Regions from separate parts of the Homo sapiens genome. Here region 1 is linked to region 2. Evidence: promoter capture Hi-C in 16 types of primary human blood cells and fetal thymus (Javierre and others, 2016). All regions are on one chromosome and are shown on one strand. The core of a region is centred on a gene start or on the middle of the fragment in contact, and the rest is flanking DNA. Distances in the headings are between cores, read along the strand shown. Region 1 overlaps IQSEC1 (IQ motif and Sec7 domain ArfGEF 1). Region 2 holds the start of HDAC11-AS1 (HDAC11 antisense RNA 1).

Region 1 (2,925 bases), core at 259-2,758, 480 kb before region 2:
CACTCTTCAGGGGACATTCAAGCTCCTGTACTTTCTGGCCTCAATTTGTCCCTTCTAGCTCTTCACTCTGTCCATTATTGTCCCTTATCAAAGTAATTTTCAACAATACACATTCGATCACATCCCTTCCCTGCTCTAAACGCTTCTGTAGCTCCTATGTCCTGTGTAATAAAGTCCAAGCTCCTTAGGAACTAGCATTTGCCTCCCTGCTTAGCTCTATCTTCAACTATGTCTCTCAAAATTAGGCTAAACCTAATGCTTTTCAAGCACACTGTACTATTTCATATCATTGTGTATTAGCACATACTATTCCCTTGGTTTCCTCCATATATAAAGAGTTATTCCAAATCAATCAAAAACAAAAAAAATGAACAACTCAAAATAAAAATGTCCAATCAATTTGACCAGGTAGTTCAGTGAAAAAGAAATACAAATGGCCTGTAAACATTCAAAAAGATGTACGACCTTACACAGAAACACAAATCAAATGATAATCTCATTTTCATCCATCAAATGGGCAAAAATTCATAGAAAGCTCATGTCTCTTTGTATATTAGCTGAAGTCCAAACCCATCCTTTAAATCCAGCTCTAAAAATGTCACCTCCTCTAGACGTCATCTTCTTGGCTCCCACAGTGTCCTGTACATCTTGAGACAGTGGGGCCAGGTACAGAGCAGAAATTCTATAGATGTTAGCTATTATTAATAAAAATAACAGCTACCATGCTGTTCTGTGGTCATCAGCTAATGGTTCTGTCCACCTGCCCAGAAGGTCCCTGAAAGCAGGAATAGAGTCTGCTTCATCACTGCTTTACTAGGACGAGCACAGGGCCTGCTACAGAGCCATGCCCTGTAAGCAGACAGGTGAGGTATATGCAGCAGAGGGAAGGCTGAAGCCAGGAGCCAGCCCTCAAGGGCTGCCCTGCTGGGGAGAGTAGGCACTGTGGAGGGGAGGGCTGAAGGAGGGCCAGTTGGTGGGCACAGCCCCAGGCTTGCAATAAACACAACTTCCATGAACTGGTACCCACTTTGTGTCAGAGAGCACTGTGCCAGATACTTTATCCAAACTATCTCTATTCCTGCAGATTCTTTGAGATGGGTGGTGTGCCCTCCATTTTACAGGTGAGAAAACAGAGGCTCAGGAATGGGGAGTGACTTACCCAAGTGAGTCTTTTTTTTTTTTTTTTTTTTGAGACAGAGGCGTGTGCTGTCACTCAGGCTGGAGTACAGTGGCTCGACTTTGGCTCCCTGCAACCTCTACCTCCTGGGTTCAAGCAATTCTCCTGCCTCAGGCCTCCCAAGTAGCTGGGATTACAGGTGCTTGCCACAATGCCCAGCTTTTTTTTTAAATTTTTTTATTTTTAGTAGAGATGGGGTTTCACCATGTTGGCCAGGCTGGTCTCGAACTCCTGGCCTCAAGTGATCCGCCCACCTCAGTCTCCCAAAGTGTTGGGATTACAGGCATGAGCCACCATGCCCGATCCTAAGTGAGTTCTTATCATTACCCCACACTGCCTGTGCTGGCTTGTGGGCACTTGATAGATGCATGAGGTTGGACATTTCATGTTCCCTATCTGGAACTCTGCTCTCCCGTCTGAGAAATGGCTCTATATTAGGGGTTTCTCAAACTTAAGAACTGATGGGCCTCTAAGAATACAGTTCCCAAGCTCCATCAGGCCCCACCTTTTAGAAACACTGCATCCAGTGGTAAACGCTGCTACACTGGAAGGTCCTGTGATGACCACATGTTCATAAAGAAAAGGCAGCCACGAACATCAGGGAGCAGAGCTCAGTTGGTAGAGGGTCGTCCAGATGACCTGCAGCATGCTTTTGTTAAAATGGGGGAGGAGTTTTCGTCTTCACGAAAATGATGTTTAAAAATGTATTGTCTTGGCCTTAGCTGGAGTGGTCAAAAATAATAATAAATATTGTCAAATGATTTTTTACAAGGTGCCAAGACAATTCATTGGAAACAATCATTTCTTTAACAAGTAGTGCTGGCCGAGCGCGATGGCTCACGCCTGTAATCCCAGCACTTTGGGAGGCTGAGGCGGGCGGATCACCTGAGGTCAGGAGTTCCAGACCAGTCTGGCCAACAAGGTGAAAACCCATCTCTACTAAAAATACAAAAATCAGCCAGGCGTGGTGGTGTGCACCTGTAATCTCAGCTACTCCAGAGGCTGAGGCAGGAGAATCACTTGAACCCGGAGGCAGGGTGGGGGGTGGCAGAGGTTGCAGTGAGCTGAGATCTAGGCACTGTGCTCTAGCCTGGGTGACAGAACAAGACTCCATCTGGAAACAAACAAACAAACAACAACAACAAAAAACAAGTAGTGCTGAGACAACTGGCTATTTATACACAAAAGGATACATTTGGGCCCATGCTTCCCACCATACACAAAAATTAACTCAAATTAATCAAAGACCTAAATGAAAGAGTTAAAACTATAAAAATCTTAGACAAAAACATAAGAAGAAATCTTTGTGACCTTGGGTTATACAATGATTTCTTAGATACAACACCAAAAGCATAAGCAAGAGAATTACAAATTCATAAATTGGACTTCATGAAAATTAAAAACTTTTGCACTTCAAAAGACACCATCAAGAAAGTAAAAAGATAAGGCCCTGCATAGGCTCATGCCTGTAATCTCAGCACTTTGGGAGGCAGAGGCAGAAGGATTGCCTGAGCCCAGGAGTTCGAGACTGTAGGGAGCCATGATCATGCCATTGTATTCCAGCCTGGGTGAGTGAGTGAGACCTGATCTCCAAAAAAAAAAAAAAAAAGGAACTGAGAAACTGAGAAAATTATATAACTGATACTGGAACCTGTATGTAGAGTATGCAAATAACTCATGACTCAATAACAAGGAGACAATACAATTTTTAAATGGGCAAAAGGTTTGAATACACATTTCATCAAAGG
Region 2 (3,132 bases), core at 332-2,831:
AGGTCCAGGCTGCCCAGATCCTCATTCTCCCAACCAGAGGATCATCTGTGTGGCTTCCCAAACTACAGAGCAAGTTCCCTGAGGGGAAGTCGGTCTCTCACAAATGCCACAGGGCCACTGCATGCACTCTGTCACTTTATAAAATAGTACTTATTCCTTCTGTGGTTTACATCTGCCCACATCCCTGACCTTTGAGTGAGTTACTTCACCATTCTGTGCCTCAATTTCTTTATCTATAAAATGGGGATGACAATAGTTTGCCTCCTAGGACTGTCAGAAGAGTTCGACAAGCAAAAAGCATTTGGACTTCAACTTAGCACATGACAGATGGTCTCTGAATAATAATCAACATTATTGTCTCTTGATTCCCTGGACTTGCCCATGAAATCCAGAGAATGAAGTGCAACCAGAACTTCATTTTCTTCCTTTTTTTTTTTTTTGAGATGGAGTCTCACTCTTGTCGCCCAGGCTGGATTGCAATGGCGCGGCCTCACCGCAACCTCCCCTCCCCGGTTCAAGCGATTCTCCTGCCCCAGCCTCCCGAGTAGCTGGGATTACAGGCGCCCTTCATCACGCCCAGCTAATTTTTTGTATTTTTAGTAGAGACGGGGTTTCACCATGTTGGTCAGGATGGTCTCGAACTCCTGACCTCAGGTGATTCACCCGCCTCGGCCTCCCAAAGTGCTGGGATTACAGGCGTGAGCCACCGCACCCGGCCCAGTACTTCATTTTCAGATGCAGACATGAAGGACCAGAAGGCTGAAGCAACCTGCCCAAAGCCACTATGCTGGCGGGTGGCCGAGTTTGGGTTTAATCCAGGCCCGAACCTCAGTTCCCTCAAGATAAAGTTGGGGTGATTATGGCACCTTTCTCAGGATTAGGTTGTGAGGCTCAGATGCCATCATGCAATCATGGCAGGCACACGGGGGCCCCTCTTCAAACGTCTGTGCGCTTCCCTTGTGCCCCGCCCTGGCACACAGCCGCCCCCGCGGAGCCCAGGGATCCCAGCCCGGCAGTCCTCCGTCAGCTGCTTCTGTTTGGATGGCGGGGACGGCTGGGCCGACAGAGAGGCCCATTGTCTCCGTCCTCTGGGGCTCTATTGTTGGGGCCTCCTCCTGGGTTGCAGCCCCACGGACAACCCCAGCTGTCGCTTGGGCCTGGCTCAGCTTACCCCGGCGGTGAGGGTGCGGGTCGGGGACGGAGACGCGTGCACCCTGAAGACAGTAACTAGGCCTGCTCTACAGAGGGAAACGCAGGCTCTGAGAGCCTACATGTCTTCGCCGGGAGTGCTTGTCCCGGAGCTGCTCGCAGACTGGGCCGGGGGTGGGCTCGGGTCGGAGAGGTCACGGGGCTCCTTAGGTCACAGGCGGCAGGGCCAGAGAAACTCCCCCGCCCCTACGTTTAACTCGCGGAAACAAGGGCCCAGAGAGCCCAGACGCCAGCCCAAGGTCACACAGCGAAGCCCCGGCACAGCCCGCCGGGAACCTGTCGTTTCTAACCCCCAGCCTCTCGCCGTTTCTACCCAGCTTGGGAAGCGCAGGAACAGGACATACGGTGGTCGCGCCCCTTCCGCGAGGCCGGGGTGAAACCCGCTTGGCCCTCCCGCCAGGGGGCGGAGCTTCCGAACCAGGCGGGATTCCACCGGGTATTTGCCTGCGGAGGCGGGACTTCGGGCTTGATGGGCGTTGGGGGTGGCCTTCCTGCGGGCAGGCTCTCTGTGTCGCAACACTGGCGGGGCGGGCCAAATCGGCCAGAGCTCTGCCCCCAGAGGACGCGGCTAAGCCCGGGGGCGTGTCCTGGGCTGGCCCCACCCGCGCCCCGCCCCGCCCCGCCCGGTCGCGGAGCTGCGGCCAGCTTTGGGAGGGCCGGCCCCGGGATGTGAGTGCCGCGGGGCGAGGGCGGGGGTGGGCTCCCAGGGGTCCCGGTGGGCGGGCGCGCTAGGGCGAGGGCGGGGACGGCCGGGCGGGCGCGCCAGGTAAGGGCCCAGATTTGCTGGTGAGGGGTGAGGGACGCTCGGGACGGGTGTTTCCAGGCCCTCCCGGCGCGCCAGGCCAGCCCCGCGCCCCTGCTCGGTGGCCCGAGGGACGCGCGCCGGCCGCGGGCCTGGGCCCGGACCCGGAGCGGTCGGGCGATGTGCGCGGGTCTGACGTCTGCGCTGCCCAGCCCCCTGGCTACGCGGACGCCCCCACGGAGGCAGCCACTGGGGCGGATTTCTGTCTCTGGGTGACGACTGCCAGGGTGTGATGGGAAGGGTTAGCAGCGCAGCGGGGTCAGGGGATCCCCGCCCCCCGCCCTGGCTCAGGTTGGGTCCCGACTTGGGTTTCTGAGTGCTTACTGTGCTCAGCTCCTCAGTTGCATTCTCTGAGTCCTCACAACAGCCACACATTTTGCAGCCGAAGCCTTGTGCCACACAGCTGTGGGGGCATTTATTACGGTGCAGAGGTGATGCGCGGAGGCCTTGCAGCCAGACACACCTGAGTGCACGCCTGCTTCTCCACAGACCTGCACTGTGACCTTGGGCACACCTGGTCTGCTCTCTGAGCCTCTGGTGCGATTGTGGTGCCTACCCCCAGGGCTGCTGTGAGGACTGGATTGGAATTGGGTTCCGGGAAAGGCAGCCAGTTTAAGCAGCTGTTGTTGAGGGGCCCTTGTCTGCGGCTGAGGGGCTAGTGGTGCTGGGCAATGGCTGGTGGGTCAGTCCAGGCGGGCTCGGGAGGGAGCTGCTTTCTGCCGAGGCTGCCCCAGCTGTGCGTCTGTCTTTTTCCACACGGTAGGCTACACACAACCCAGCTGTACCAGCATGTGCCAGAGACACGCTGGCCAATCGTGTACTCGCCGCGCTACAACATCACCTTCATGGGCCTGGAGAAGCTGCATCCCTTTGATGCCGGAAAATGGGGCAAAGTGATCAATTTCCTAAAAGGTATGGAAGGTCCCCCTTGGACTCTCATCTGCTTCCTCCAACCCACCTGTCCTCTCCGTCCTCATCCCCAACATAAGCCTCAGGCTCTCTCCCATCTTCAGTTTCAGCCCTCGGATGGCCTTCCACCCATGCTTCCGCCCAAAATGATTTTTCCAACACAGACTCCTAATCACGATATGATGTCCCTGACTCAGACTCTCCCTGGCTCC

What was found. The method cuts DNA at HindIII sites, captures the fragments that hold promoters and counts their contacts. A CHiCAGO score of 5 or more calls a contact.
Region 1: a contact is called between a fragment that was not itself captured here and the fragment with the promoter of HDAC11-AS1 in region 2, in 1 of 17 cell types (naive B cells). The highest score is 6.2, in naive B cells.

Annotation. Positions count from the first base shown.
Region 1 is chr3:12,999,779-13,002,703 of GRCh38, forward strand. The region is part of intron 1 of IQSEC1 (IQ motif and Sec7 domain ArfGEF 1); the gene reads right to left. Among named protein-coding and RNA genes, the nearest start is that of IQSEC1, 72 kb to the right of the region's middle. RefSeq lists a silencer at 1,451-1,745. The HindIII fragment of the contact is 4,704 bases long and covers 1-2,925 here.
Region 2 is chr3:13,478,472-13,481,603 of GRCh38, forward strand. HDAC11-AS1 (HDAC11 antisense RNA 1) reads right to left here and starts at 1,582. Exons shown (of 2, transcript NR_046690.1): 1 at 1,172-1,582. HDAC11 (histone deacetylase 11) reads left to right here and starts at 1,835. Exons shown (of 10, transcript NM_024827.4): 1 at 1,835-1,878; 2 at 2,775-2,923. The coding sequence starts at 1,877. RefSeq lists enhancers at 1,191-1,250, 1,900-2,556 and a silencer at 1,711-2,200. The HindIII fragment of the contact is 8,461 bases long and covers 1-3,132 here.